5 separate regions of the Homo sapiens genome follow, and regions 2, 3, 4 and 5 are each linked to region 1. The links are contacts of gene promoters, found by promoter capture Hi-C in blood cells and fetal thymus (Javierre and others, 2016). All regions are on one chromosome and are shown on one strand. The core of a region is centred on a gene start or on the middle of the fragment in contact, and the rest is flanking DNA. Distances in the headings are between cores, read along the strand shown. Region 1 holds the start of ZNF527 (zinc finger protein 527). Region 2 overlaps ZNF235 (zinc finger protein 235). Region 3 overlaps ZNF234 (zinc finger protein 234). Region 4 holds the start of ZNF224 (zinc finger protein 224). Region 5 holds the start of ZNF283 (zinc finger protein 283).

Region 1 (2,853 bases), core at 239-2,738:
TTTTCCAGGGGCTCAAGACATTTAGGCATTATATTGAACTTCTCTCTTTCCCTATATTCACAACCAAGCATCAGCAACTTCTGTTAGTTCTACACTCAAACTGTATCCCAATCTGACAATTTCTCATTGCCTCTTCCAGTGATGACCCTAATTCAAACCACCATCATCATAAGACCATTGGTCTCCAAAATAGTTTATACATAAATGAGCCTGTCATTGACATGTAGAGACCTGGGTCAACAGTACAGATGGAGGTCCCCAGCCAGTCCCCTTCTGTTCCCACTGCCATCCTTGTCCCACATCGTAAGAGGTCTTCTATTCCCACATGTGGACACTCCAGCTTGCATATCTAAGCTCTGTCTAGCCTTACCAAATTGCTCTCATTTGGCCACATTTTGTGGATAGGCAGCACATTCCACCTTTGGAAGACAGATCAAGGGAAGGGTCTTTGGACACAGAGGAGATACAGGCTCTGGAAGCAGGCTGGAGTCCATTTGAACAGGAAATCCTGGGGATTTGGATACCCAGAGCATGGTCTGAAAGAAGGTTGTGAGATCTTTGCAGGCATGTTTCTGCCTATGGACTTTCACCAGGAAGGAAACTGCTTGACTAGAGGAGGGCCAAAGTGTGGCCTTTTGTATGTTTAATAATATTAAAATGTTAAATATATTATTTTGACCAATTGAGAAATAATAATAATAATAAAATAGGCCGGGTGCGATGGCTCATGCCTGTAACCCCAGCACTTGGGGAGGCCGAGGCAGGTGGATCACAAGTTCAGGAGATGAAGACCATCCTGGCCAACATGGTGAAACCCCATCCCTACTAAAAATACAAAAATTAGCTGGGCGTGGTGGCAGGTGCCTGTAATCCCAGCTCCTCAGGAGGCTGAGGCAAGAGAATCGCTTGAACCCGGGAGGCGGAGGTTGCAGTGAGCGCCGAGATTGCCTCAATAAAAGATACCACAGACCCCGCCCATGGCAGGAGATGGGGGTGAAGGAACAGTAAGACCAGGAGACAGTCAGATACACATCGGATCAGTGGTATCCTCACAGTAACAGAAACGGTCACCCCCAATGTCAGCCACAGTCTCTTTCATCCACAATCACTTTCACATTCAGCTACCCACAATCACGGGACGTGATTTAAAATACAGAAGCTCCCTGCACTGACAAAATCCGCCGCTCCTTTCGTCGGCAAGCATAAAGGTGTGCAGCAACAGTCACACACGAACCACCACACCCAAGCATTCAACCAGTCAGCCCCGCGCGCAGCCTGGCCGCTTTCCCCAACACAGCAGCTCAAGGTCACTGGAGAGCCTACGACCGCACACAGCCCTCTCCGGTACCTGCCCCCGTGGCGCAGGCGCGCAGTGGAGGGGGCCGCGGGGTTCTCTGGGAGATGTAGTTCAACGATGACGGCCGTGGCGCAAAGCGTTCTGGGGCTCGTGGTTCGCGGGGTCCATGGGGAACGCGGTGTCGCTGGTTCAGATCTCGCAGAGCTCAGAGTCCTGCATGCCTCAGTCCTCGCCTCGCTCCTCCTCGCGGAGGATTCTGGGAGGTGACGTCGCGGGTCTCGGTCGCGGGGCCCGTTTGCAGAGCCCGCGGCGCCGGGAGGTGAGTGGGGCCGGGCCCCGGGCGGGAGCGGGAAGTCAAGGGCGGGCTCCGGGTGGCCCGGCCGCGCCAGGGATGGGAACCCGGCAGGAGTCGCTGGGGAGGCCGTGTGTGTTTCACTGTATTACCAACTATGTGACAGGCTGCGGGTGTGACAGAATGTGATCTTGTGTCACTGTGTGTGTGTGTTTGTGCGCGTGCGCCCGCTTGTGTGTGACTGTAACCATCTGTGTCTGGGGGTGAAACTGTGAATATGTGTGTTTGTGTGTGACTGTCTCTGCAGGTGTAGCTGTGTATGTGTTTATGAGAGACTGGGGTGTGACATTGTGTGTTTGTGTAAATGCATGTGTGTGGTTATGTGACCACCTGTTTCTGCGGATACAATTGCGTTTGAATGTGTGTGACAGCAAGTGTGATTGTGCGACTATGACCATCTGTCTCCGCAGGTATAGTTTTGTATCAGTAATTGTGACAAGATGTGTGACTTCTGTGGTATGCTACTTTGTGTGTGATTGTGTGTGATTGTTTATCTCTGTTGGTGTAGTTGTATGTTACCATCTATCTTTGTGCTTATGTGGCTGTGTATTGTGTGAGATTATGGGTGTGTTTGTGTGACTCTATACATTTGTGATTGGGTGAGAATTTGTGTGTATATATGAGATTGTGGGATTGATGTATGAAGCACAGAAATATTAGAATTACCCAAGTTCACACAGTTAACAAGTGACAGCACCAGAACTCAAACCCAAGCAGTTTAGCTCTAGAGGTCTCGCTTTTTTTTTTTTTTTTCTCTTGAGATGGAGTCTCACTCTATTGCCCAGGCTGGAGTGCAATGATGCGATCTCGGCTCACTGCAACCTCCGCCTCCCAGGTTCAAGTGATTCTCCTGCCTCAGCCTCCCAAGTAGCTGGGATTACAGGCGCGCACCACCACGCCCAGCTAGTTTTTGTATTTTTAGTAGAGACGAGGTTTCACCATGTTTGGCCAGGCTGGTCTCCAACTCCTGACCTCATGATCCGCCCACCAGAGCCTCCCACAGTGCTGGGATTACAGGCGTGAGGCGCTGCGCCCTGCTGCAGTTTTTATGGACAATTTCAAGCTGCACTACACTAAGGAAATAACTGCTAGGGACTGAGTTGCCTAGTGCAAAGTAGTCCAGAATTAGGGGGTGAAATTAGGGGGTGATGTATACTGAATTCTAGGTCAACCACAGTTGTCCCTTTCTTTTCTTTTCTTTTCT
Region 2 (2,853 bases), core at 218-2,717, 6.9 Mb after region 1:
TGGGATTACAGGTGAGCCACTGTGCCTGGCCTTCACCCAAATGGAACACCTGAAACTTCTGGCTTAGGCACTGGAAGCTTTAACGTCAGCTGGGCATTGAGTGGACTTCAATAAGTGTCTAAAGGTTCACACCTGTCTCTTTATGTTTAAAATACAGATAAGGCCATCTACATCCTCACAAAGCTGTTCCATGGTGCAAATTCCTGGTGAATCTCCTAGTGCTATAAGACTTTTAAACTAAGTATGTGCATCTTTAAAATATAATAACATGTTAATGAATAAAACAGATACTTAACTATAATACAAGGTTTTACTTAGAATTAAAGAAAGAAATCTAGCTCGTTTGAAACTAAAATTACTTTCTCTGAGTTTGGCATCAGTCAGATGCTACTGCACTAAGCTATACTTTATTCTCTCCATAAAATGAGGTGCTGTGTATGAGAAAATGAGTCTAAAACTTTAAAGATTAAAAAAATGGTAGAATTCTCAGAATCCTTATTTGGGAAGAGAAGTTACATGGGGAAAAACTGCTATTGTCAATGTCCTTAAAATGGCAAAATTCATAGATTACATAAACATGGAGAATGAGGAAAAATAAAAACAAGTAAATGATGGAAAATGATGTGATCATTTAAAAAGCAGGTGATATAAAATTAAATTTAAAAAATTCGAAATTGTACCTAAAGTATGATTATATATGTTGAGTGCAAATGAAAAGGAATGTGGGAAATGATTTGTAAACATATTTGTAATGTGAGAGTTGTTTTCCATTTAAAAAATATATCTGTTAGGCCACGGCAGGAGGATCTCTTAAGCCCAGAAGTTCAAGACCAGCCTGGGAAACACAGGAACACCCCATCTCTACTAAAAATAATTAGCTGGTTGTGCTGGTGTGTGCCCGTGGTCCCACCTGCTCAAGAGGCTAAGGTGGGAGGATCTCTTGAGCCCAGGCCCAGGCTGCAGTGAGCCACTGCACTCCAGCCTGGGAAACAGGGTGAGACTCTGTCTCTAAATATATATAGAGATTTATATTTACATATATATATATATATAAAACTATATACTTATATATGAGTATATATATACTTATATATATATAACTATATACTTATATATGAGTAAATATATACTTATATATATTTGTATGTGTTTATATATACATATTTGTATATAAATATATACGTATATATTTGTATGTATTTATATATACATATTTGTATATATAAATATATACGTATATATGTATATATTTATATATAAATATATACATATATACGTATATATTTATATAAAATATACGTATATATTGTATACATTTATATAAAATATACGTATATATTTGTATATATAATACATATATACAAATATACGTATATTTCTTATAAATATATACATATATATTTGTATATAAATATAAAATATATACGTATATATAAATATATAATTATATAGAAATATATTTTAGAAATTAACAGATATATATATATCTCTCTGTTAATTTTTATACTATTATATTGAAATAAAAGGCAACAACCTGGCATATAACAACATTCCAAGTGCCTTTCGTTCCCTTTTACTGTTCCCAAACAGGAAAAATGTGTCCAATCTTTGTGAAATGAGATGTCATTTTAAGAAACACAAAGGCAAACCAAACTTACCTGGAACTTGGTCATTTTTCCCCTCCTCCTTCTGGGAAAAGGCAGAGTTCCGGGGAAGTGAACCTGAGGGAGGGAAAGGCATCATGAGATAGGTTAGGGATGGCATTAGTCACCATGGCACTTTTATGTGACACTTCAGAGAAAGGTCCCCCTGTCTCTAGGCAGACACAGTTGCACACGGCTTAGTGAGGAGAACGGGAGCTAGCTCCCAGCTACCCCTCGGCCCCCTCAACCAGCTGCTTTTGTTCATGAACATTTCATATTAACAGACCTAAATCAAATACAGCTCTCTGTGTACTCCTTCTGAACTTTAGTTTCCAAGGAAATGAGACACAGACAGGCAGGGGAATGTAACAGAGCCAAAATGCCTGGCTTCAAATTTTGGCATTTCTACCTATTTTCAACTGATCAGCAGTATAAACCTTAAGCGAATTATTAATCTCTCTGTGCCTTAATTCAGTTACCTGTGAATGGGGACAATAATAATGCCTGTATTCTCTATTTCCTGCAGCTTCTGACAAGCAAGTGCTATTATGCTTCATAAAACTGCCCTTTTGAGTATGCTTTCTAGAAAATGAATCTTTTAAGAAACCCAGAACTCAAAAATAATTGCTCTGTCCTGTGAGTTACCATTACCCTCAGAAAAGTCTGTAACTGTGATTGGTTGTCTAACATAATTAGTTCCGTTGGTAATGATAGTTAAACTGCCACAGGTTTTTTTTTCCTCCAACAGATGTAATTACTTGCAAATGTTACTAAGCTGGAGGAGCCTCAAGAAAGTCTCTTTTTCCACATGCATGAAAGCAATGACTAATAAAAACCTAAAACTCTCTAAGAAATGGTGTTACACTTAAGTTAACCACACGGGATTATTGGTTATAACCACATTATACTGAACATTTATTAGGGCCTCAGGACACCTCTGGCACTCTGCAAATCCGTAATGACGATCGCTTATCTGAGATAAAACACACAGGACATTCCCCAGGCTCCGCTGGAACTAATTCCTGTCTCCTAAACAAGAGGCTAGAAAAGTCCAAGAATCCAGGAACGGCCCCACATCAGGCAAGGATTAGAGAAGGGACAGCGGCTCCGTAGCTGGATCTCCTAGACTCAGAGGAGTTTCCAAACAACAGGCGTCTTTTTCAGTATTATAACAGAATTAACGGTGGCATCCAACATTTTCCTATGCACT
Region 3 (2,853 bases), core at 166-2,665, 6.8 Mb after region 1:
AAATAAAAAATACAAAAATTAACCAGGTGTGGTGGTGCATGCCTCTTATCCCACCTACTTGGGAGGCTGAGGCATGAGAATCGCTTGAATCCAGGAGGCAGAGGTTGTAGTGAGCCTAGATCACGCCACTGCACTCCAGCCTGGGTGACAGAGTGAGACTGTCTCAAAAAAAAAAGACATTGGTTAGAAATGTAATTTTAGTAATGCACCAAGATGTAACAGTTTTTCTGTTGTTTGAGATAACACCTGGAGTTTTTTGTTTTATTTTTAAGAAGATTAATGAGTGCAGACAGAAATGTGAGGTTAGAGTGAAGGTTTAATAAGCAAAAGAAGAAAGCTTTTTGCCAGCAGAGAGGGGGACCCAAATGGAATTCCCCCTATGAGGCAGGGGTTTGGGGTTTTTATGGACTGGGAAGGGGAAGGAATGTGCTTAGTTTGTGGGCTATTTTGGAGAAAGTGTGACTTAGCTTGGCCCGGAACCTTGGCCCAGGACCAATCAGGTTGAAGTAAAGATATATAGAGACCGGACTTACAGTTTGAAAAAAAGAAAGTAGAGTGCCCACTGGAACCCACTGGAGCCCACTGTACCTATGCCCACAAAAGGAGAAGAAACCTTTTCCTGGGAGCCCGCTGACTATACAGAGGACAAAGGCATTCTTATGCCAGGCCTTGCTCCTTTATCTGAGCGAGCTGGAGGTATGTACAAGCTTTTATCCAAATGGGCTGGAGGTTTTTCTATCTGTGCAGCCGTGGGCATGTCTCCAGGCACAACACCCTGTGGTAGTTCCCTTATTGGTGCCTGCAGCTTAAATTTTTTTTCCAGGCTGCTTTTTATGTTATATAAAAATAAGACACTAACCCATGGGTCAGGGGCTCTCCAAAGACCCTTCCCTTGCTGTCTACCTAAGGCAAGCGAACTAACTCCTTTCAGAAATAGGTTTTTATAGCACATATTTATGTCTATGTGTCTGGATCTTGAAATACTGATATTTCTTCATTAGGTTCTTCTAAAAGTGTTTGAAAACACTACTTTTGATTGATTGATCAGTATACAGTAGTAATTCAAATTGCCAGTAAGTTCAGTTGTACCTTTAGTGTGTTTGTTTTAAATATGTGACTTTGCGTGTTCTAGGGCATCACCCCTTCAAACATGATGTATTCCTTTTAGAAAAGGAAAAAAAGCTTGATATAATGAAGACAGCAACTCAAAGAAAAGGGAAATCAGGTAAGAACCAAGCAGCTAAGAGTCCTTGTACGTGATTGTCCATCTGTTGTACTTCTCTCCCCTGCTCTTGCTGCCATCGGGTCCAAATTGCCAAACCTCTGTCCTGGATGATTGCAACAGCCTTCGTACTGGGCGCACTGCATCCACCCTCAATAGTATAAAGTATGTTCTCCTACAGGCGTTCTCCATATCATAGCTAAAGTGATCCTTTGGAAATGTAAGTCAGATTGCCATTCCTCTACTTAAGACCTTGTACAGGGCTGGGCACAGTGGCTCATGCCTGTAATCCAGCACTTTGGGGGCCAAAGCAGGAGGATCAGGAGTTTGAGACCAGCCTGGCTAACATGGCAAAACCTCGTCTCTACTAAAAATACAAAAATTAGCCAGGCGTGGTGGCCAGCGCCTGTAGTCCCAGCTACTCAGGAAGCTTAGACAGGAGAATCGCTTGAACCCAAGAGGCAGGTTGCAGTGAGCCAAGATCGCACCGCTACACTCCAGCCTGGGCAACAGAGCGACACTCCATCTTAAAAAAAAAAAAAATACTCTGAATGGCTTCTTATTTTTCTTAAAGTTGAAGTCTCTTAAAGGAGCTTATAGAGTCCTGCGTGGTCTGCTGTTCATCCTCCTCTGCGTCTCTGACTACATCTCCTGTATTCTACCTCTTGCTCCATCTTTTCCAGCCACATCATCCTCCCTGCTATTTCCCAGACCTGGTAAGGACATTGCTCGCTCTGTCGCCCAGGCTGGAGTATAGTGGTGCAATCTCAGCTCACTGCCACCTCCGCCTCCCAGGTTCAAGCGATTCTTCTGCCTCAGCCTCCCAAGTAGCTGGGATTACAGGTGCCTGTAACCACGTCCGGCGGATTTTTGTATTTTTTATAGAGACAGGGTTTCACCATGTTGGCCAGGCTGGTCTCCTGACCTCAAGTGACCCGCCTGCCTCAGCCTCCCAAAGTGCTGGGATTACAGGCATGAGCCACTGTGCCCGACCTGGACACTGCATTTCTTACTGCTGCTGTAACATATTACCCCAAACTGAGTGGATTAAATGATAAAAATGTATTGTCTTTCAGTTCTTTGTTTGAAGTCCAACATGGGTCTCACTACGCTGAAATCAAGCTGTCAGCCCGTCCCTGTTTCTTCCCGGAGGCTCTAGGGAAGGAGAATCTGTATCGTTCCCTTATCAGTGTGTAGGGGCTGCCAAATTTCATAGCTTGTGGCCCTCTTCACAGCCAGCAACAGTGCTTCTCTGATCATTCTTCTATAGTTGCATTTCCCTTTTATTCTCTCTTCATCCTTTTTCCACTTTATAAGGACCCTCTAATTGCACTGGGCCCACTTGGATAATGTAGAATTGCCTTCTATTTTTAGTTCAGCTGATTTGCAACCTTAATTCCCTCTGCAACCTTAATTACCCTTTGTCATAACCTGACATATTCTTAGGATGAGAATTAGAACGTGGATTCTTTGGGGGTTGATTATTCTGCCAACTACAGATACTTCTGCCTCAAAGCCCTTATTTGCCCTTGTCTTTGCCTGGAAAAACTCACCTACAATCCTCTCGGCCCCTCTCTTACTTCATCCTGGTCTCTGCTCAGTTTTAATTTCACAGTGGTGGCCTTTTCTGA
Region 4 (2,853 bases), core at 131-2,630, 6.7 Mb after region 1:
CCTGGGCATCAAGAGGGAAACCCCACCTCAAAACAAAACAAGACAAAGCAAACAAAAAAAACAAATCGTAGTAGAAACATAAAATATTATGAAGTACTGGTACATGCTGTGATGTGGATGAACTTTAAAAGCAGTATGCTGGCAGGGCGCGGTGGCTCACGCCTGTAATCCCAGCACTTTGGGAGGCCGAGGCGGGAGGATCACGAGGTCAAGAGATCGAGACCATCCTGGCTAACACGGTGAAACCCCGTCTCTACTAAAAATACAGAAAAATTAGCCAGGCGTGGTGGCACGCGCCTGTAGTCCCAGCTACTCGGGAGGCTGAGACAGGAGAATCGCTTGAACCCGGGAGGCGGAGGTTGCAGTGAGCTAAGATCGTGCCACTGCACTCCAGCCTGGCACTTTTTTTGAGATTCCGTCTCAAAAAAAAAAAAAAGAAGCAGGATGCTAAGTGAAAGGTGTCAGAAACAAAAGGTTCCATAATGTATAATTCCATTTATATGAAATGTCCACAATAGGTAATTCAATAGGACAGAGATTAGTGTTAGACAGTGACTGCTTAGTGGGTATGGGGTTTTTGGGGTGATGAAAATGTTTCCTAACTTTTTATTTGTACTACATATATCCTAAAATGGTGAATTTCACGTTTTGTGCATTACACCTCAATAGAGATGTTTTAAATAATAAAATACATTAAAATGTTTTGCATAGATAAAACAATAAAAAAAAACGTTTTTGTTGAGAAAATATTTGCGAGATAAAATGTTAATATCATGAATATAAGAACAGTGCTTGAAAAGTGAGGGATAAAACCAAAAACTCAATAAGAAAGTGGGCAAAACATCTGGACAATTTACAAAAAATGTAATAATGACACCTGAAAATATGCAAGAATATGCCATCTTTACAAGAGTTATAAATTAAAACTACATGCCATTTCTTACCACTGGCAAAACTTATTTGAAGAGTGTATCATCTCGCTTGTTCCCTTTCCAGTAACACTCCTGTCCTCACTAGAGGGGTTTAGACTTCAGGAATTCCTTTCTATACGGTATTTTCTCTTAGGCACCCAGGGAGAGGGAAGGACGACTCTCAGGGTAGAAGTCCACATTTCCCAACAGGCGCTCGGGGGTACGAGATTCGTTCCCCGTGGGAAGAGTGGTCAAGGGCTTCCCAGTAGTCGTCAACACTTCCCTTTGAGTGTAATGCTGCAGGAGTACAGTCCAGACCCTCAGTGGAATCGCGGTCGGTTTAGCTCCGGCAGTTGGGTCCCAGGGAATTCTGGGAAGTGTAGTCCAGACGCTCAGTGGAGTCGCGGTCAGTTTGGCTCCGGCTGGCGGGTCCCGGGGAATTCTGGGAAGTGGAGTCCAAACATTCGGTGGAGTCGCGGACACTTCCGCTCGGGGACTGAGGTTGCTGCAGTTTTTCCGCGATAGTTTGGGGCAGTTCCGCGCGTTGCAGGCCCTTCTGAATTTCCTGGACCTACGCATTGGATCCTCAAAGAACTGGTGATCGAATTAGGGGAAAAGGGGCCTCGTCGGAGAGTAGAGGTTTGGAGGGGCAAGGGCCGCTGTTTGCGTTCTCGTCCGTGGCACCTTCTTGGGCTTGGGTCTGTCCTCGCTTCCCGGGGGCATTGGTACTTGGTTGGGTCGCGTCTCACCTGGTTTCAGGGTTTCCGGGGCTCTGAGCTCGCCCACTCCGCCCCCTGCACCCCACGCGCGTGGCCACTTCTTCTCGATATAACGTTGGGGTGTTAATCTCCTTGGGTTTCCCGTTACTGTTCTTTAAAATGGGGACTTTAGGGCCATCCTAATGGAATCGTTTTGGGAACTGGAAGAGGTAACACAAATGAGAGCCTTAAAGCAGTCCCTGTCACTTGGTGACTGGTGGTCTCTTGTTAATTTCCCACGAAGGACCGGGTGGGGTCAGAGCTCCAGCTGCAGGGGCCTCGGCCCTTCTCCCTGATCCCTGCAGGACGCTGGATGATCCCGGAAGCCTTCTGACCTCTTTTTAGGAGAGCGAGGGTTGCGTCCACTTTCATGAAGGGAAAGGAGCATTTAACTTTTATGGGGGACGGCGACGCGGTCAAGGTGTTTCACAGCTTTCTCGTTCCCCAACCCGACCTTTCCAGAAGAGCTGCAGGGAGGGACTTCTTGGCTTCTGAGGGCAAAGCTCTACGTGAGTGGTCCTTGGCTCTTTGACCGAGATGCTCACCCCAACCGAGAGTGTATAGGTTGTGTCCTCGGGCATGGGGGTCGATAATAATTAAGTCTTAATTAGTAACTTCATTCTAAGGGCTTTATACAAATAAATTTACGCCACACCGTGGCTCTGTGGAGAAGTATTGCTTTTTTCTATTTTAAAAACGAAAGTGAGACACAGAGCGCATAGGCACCCGACTAGTGAGAGGTGGAGCTGGGGTTGGAACCTAAGCAGTCTGGGTCAGAGCCTGATTTGATCTTCTCTTGGGATACGTTGTCACTGAGGCAGAGGAACTAGTTGGACTTAGGTGGGGAAAGCAAGACTTAGGGGCTTGAAATTTTCTGAGTTTCTAAAAATGTTGTCAACTATTTTGTTTCAATCATTACAAATATTTTGTATTCTTATAGAACCATGTCATTGTACAGCATTCTATTTTTCTTTATTAAGAACAAAATGGGCCTGGCGCGGTGGCTTACGCCTGTAATCCCAGCACTTTGGGAGGTCCAGGCGGGCGGATCACGAGGTCAGGAGTTCGAGACCAGCCTGGCCAACATGGTGAAACCGCATCTCTACTAAAAAATAATTACAAAAATTAGCTGGGCGTGGTGGTGGGCGCCTGTAATCCCATCTACTCGGGAGGGTGAGGCAGGA
Region 5 (2,853 bases), core at 161-2,660, 6.5 Mb after region 1:
CCTATGGAAATAAAAAATTAAAAAAAAATCAGACCCCCAAAATATTCAGAGTAGTACTTGTGGGAGTCATTGAGCAAGTAACATGGGAAGAGAGGAGGCTGCTTCCACCAGTGGTTTTGGAGGTGGAGCAGATGCTGATGATAATGAAGTCCCAGATGGGAAACGGGGATGGGTGCCGAGGAAAGCTCAAGGACCCTGCAGATGAGGACTCAGACCCACGATACTGGATGAGGCATCCATGTCACCATGGGAGTCAACCAGGGTAGTGGCCTCAGCTGAGGCAGGGGAAAAGCTGGGATCCAAGAGCTCTAGTCTTCTCTTGATAAGCAAGAGAGACCAGGAGGTGAGAGATGGCAGAGGATGAGAGAGGTGATATCAGTGACCAGAAAGAGCCCCTAAAAAGTAACTTCCTTTTCTTTCTGTTAGTTTTAATATAAAATTTCGCTTTAATATTTTTAGACAATTCTTTTTTAAAAAAGTATTTATATCCAAAGGTTCTTACCACACCAACCACAGCCCCAATCTTTTTGCCCTAACCTCAGAATCAGTTAGTTGTCTCCTTTAAAACCTTTCTCTCTCTCACACACCCACACACACACACACGCAAACACACAGGAGAGAGAGAGAGGGAATATATAGTATTGTTTTTGGAGTATGAGTGTGTGCTTCAGAATAAATGGTTTCATACTCTATAAAAAATGAGATTCAAATTTTATAATCCATCAAGTTTTATTGGAACACAGCCATGCTGGATTGCTTGTGCATTGTTTATGGCCGCCTTTGCACTGCCATAAGTCTCCACGGTCACAATATCCACTCACTACCACTTATTGTTGTCTTTCAACAGCGGCATATAAAATCTGTAACACAGTTCATCTCACACCTAATAAAACAGACTCACACAGGCATAAATTTAGAAAACATCCCATGAACATAAACAGGTCCACGCAGGGTCCCAGACACCGAATCGAACTAAGAAACTCCCTCACAGCAAGACACACCCATCTGTTCAATTGCCAGACACTGTTCCAGGCGCTCATACCCAGGTAAACTGGTAGTGTCGCGCAGGTCATTTCCAGCGAACTTACCCCGGATTCCCTTGCTCGCTCACGTCTAAGTCCCCAGACACCCCAGTCCCATCTTCGCCTGTTCTAGACTCCAGAATGCGTTCCTTAGCGAAAGCTGAGAACCTTTTAATTCGCTCTCAGTCAACACCAAAGACCCTCAAGCAAAAGCAAGAGCTCCCGGGCGTCTTCGAAAAAAGCGCCTTTGACAGGTGAAGCCAAGTTGCATGCTGGGAGCATCCCTGCTGTCCAGGTTTCAACTTCCGGAGACTCTGCCGCTGTGGACTACATTTCCCAGAAGTCTCCGGGGCACAGGCCTTTTAGGGGCGGGGCGAGCTTGCCTGCCAGAAGCTCCTCTCCCAGCCTGCGAGCATTTCCAGGCTCTTGTTTCCCATCAGCCTCTGGGTCCAAACTAACCACAGGTCTCTGGGTCCTTTTCCGGTGTCCTTAAGGTTCTTGGACTCTGCATGGTGAGTTGGTCGTGTCTGTAGAAGTAATCAGCCCGGGTGAAGCTGGGAGGGCTCGGCTGGCTTTACTGGGGCCCGACTGGAACCGGCAGTGAGGGTGGGGGTGGCATCGGGGGTGCTGGAGGTGGGGAGGGCTGGGTCACGGACAGAGCGTGTCGTGTCCGGATCCTCAAGCCTGTGTGCACGCGAGCAGCCGAGGGACAGTGTGTCTCAGACGGCGTGGCAGGGACGGGGCGTGTCCCCACGGAGGTGGGTGCAGTTGTGAATGTGTGACGGGCTGACAGGGTGCGTGGCCGTATTTGTAAATGTGATTTGCTTTGACCAAATGCTCTAGGTTCCCTTTAGCCTGTCTTCGGGCCTGCCACAATTAAATGACCGCAAGAAAGAAGTCTATGCTAAGCCCCATAATGAACGTTTCAAGCAAGAAGGATGAGAATTTTAGATCTGGAAGTGTCCGCGGGACAGGATCTTGTCAAGACCTGATGGGGAAGTTCTAGAGGTGGGATTCCTAGAAGAGGGGCCTCTAGGAGCTCTTTGGTGGTGAGCTACATGTTTCAGAGCCATTGCAAGCAGACCTCTGTCCCCAAGAATTGCCCTCAACACAGAGACAGACTCTAGCCTCCCTTTTCATTCCGTTTGGTTTTGTGTGGATGAAGGCAGAAGTGGCCCCAGAGGGTGTTTTGCTCTTCTTTTTCTTTTTTAATTAAGTCTGTGACGCGCTAGAAATGCTGATGTCTCATGTTACTGTTTTTTCCCCCAGTGCTGCCAGGTTGCCAGATTTCTAAGAAGGAGTTTGAAGAGGAGAAAAGGATTTTTGCATGTTTAGAAATCAAGGTTCAGGTGAGGTTTTTTATACATACTTTTTAAATACATACACATACAATTACCTTTGCTTCTAGGTCATGAGAACATTTTCTTTCCTTGGCCTGAAATATCTTGACTGGGTTTTCCCAGTTACATGACCCGCCATGCTGGTACATATTTCCTCCCAGTGGCCCCCTATTGTTCTTCTCCACAATTCTTACCCACCTGTTCATATGGCAAATTGTTCAAATACTTCAGTGCATTATGATGCACTGAAGAGTTATAGAAAGGCACCTCTTGTAGATTGCTATTAGAGCATTATTTTATACTATGATTATTTGAAGAGATTAGTAATTAGGTGGTGTTATATAAACATTATTTTTTATCTTTTCTGTAGTCATAATTAAAATTTTTTTTTAACTTTTTTTAGAGACAAGGTCTCACTCTGTTGCCCAGGCTGAGTGCAGTAGTATAGTCATAGCTCAGTGCAACCTTGAAGTCCTGGGCTCAGGTGTTCC

Evidence for each region. The method cuts DNA at HindIII sites, captures the fragments that hold promoters and counts their contacts. A CHiCAGO score of 5 or more calls a contact.
Region 2: a contact is called between a fragment that was not itself captured here and the fragment with the promoter of ZNF527 in region 1, in 5 of 17 cell types (total CD4 T cells, naive CD4 T cells, total CD8 T cells and 2 more). The highest score is 8.8, in total CD4 T cells.
Region 3: a contact is called between a fragment that was not itself captured here and the fragment with the promoter of ZNF527 in region 1, in 2 of 17 cell types (activated CD4 T cells and naive CD8 T cells). The highest score is 6.0, in activated CD4 T cells.
Region 4: the fragment with the promoter of ZNF224 here is called in contact with the fragment with the promoter of ZNF527 in region 1 in 9 of 17 cell types (non-activated CD4 T cells, total CD4 T cells, total B cells and 6 more); the score reaches 30.4 in non-activated CD4 T cells.
Region 5: the fragment with the promoter of ZNF283 here is called in contact with the fragment with the promoter of ZNF527 in region 1 in 9 of 17 cell types (non-activated CD4 T cells, naive CD8 T cells, total B cells and 6 more); the score reaches 24.0 in non-activated CD4 T cells.

Annotation. Positions count from the first base shown.
Region 1 is chr19:37,369,611-37,372,463 of GRCh38, forward strand. ZNF527 (zinc finger protein 527) reads left to right here and starts at 1,489. Exons shown (of 5, transcript NM_032453.2): 1 at 1,489-1,616. RefSeq lists enhancers at 859-998, 1,019-1,068, 1,239-1,548 and a silencer at 1,579-1,888. The HindIII fragment of the contact is 7,295 bases long and covers 1-2,853 here.
Region 2 is chr19:44,301,732-44,304,584 of GRCh38, forward strand. ZNF235 (zinc finger protein 235) reads right to left here. Exons shown (of 5, transcript NM_004234.4): 2 at 1,659-1,721. The coding sequence starts at 1,673. Among named protein-coding and RNA genes, the nearest start is that of ZNF235, 1.9 kb to the right of the region's middle. The HindIII fragment of the contact is 2,785 bases long and covers 76-2,853 here.
Region 3 is chr19:44,149,281-44,152,133 of GRCh38, forward strand. ZNF234 (zinc finger protein 234) reads left to right here. Exons shown (of 6, transcript NM_006630.3): 5 at 1,133-1,225. Among named protein-coding and RNA genes, the nearest start is that of ZNF234, 9.2 kb to the left of the region's middle. The HindIII fragment of the contact is 470 bases long and covers 1,181-1,650 here.
Region 4 is chr19:44,092,981-44,095,833 of GRCh38, forward strand. ZNF224 (zinc finger protein 224) reads left to right here and starts at 1,381. Exons shown (of 6, transcript NM_001321645.3): 1 at 1,381-1,550. RefSeq lists an enhancer at 1,191-1,300. The HindIII fragment of the contact is 10,144 bases long and covers 1-2,853 here.
Region 5 is chr19:43,825,911-43,828,763 of GRCh38, forward strand. It overlaps ZNF283 (zinc finger protein 283), which reads left to right and starts at 1,411. Exons shown (of 7, transcript NM_181845.2): 1 at 1,411-1,534; 2 at 2,292-2,371. RefSeq lists an enhancer at 1,269-1,468. The HindIII fragment of the contact is 6,325 bases long and covers 1-2,853 here.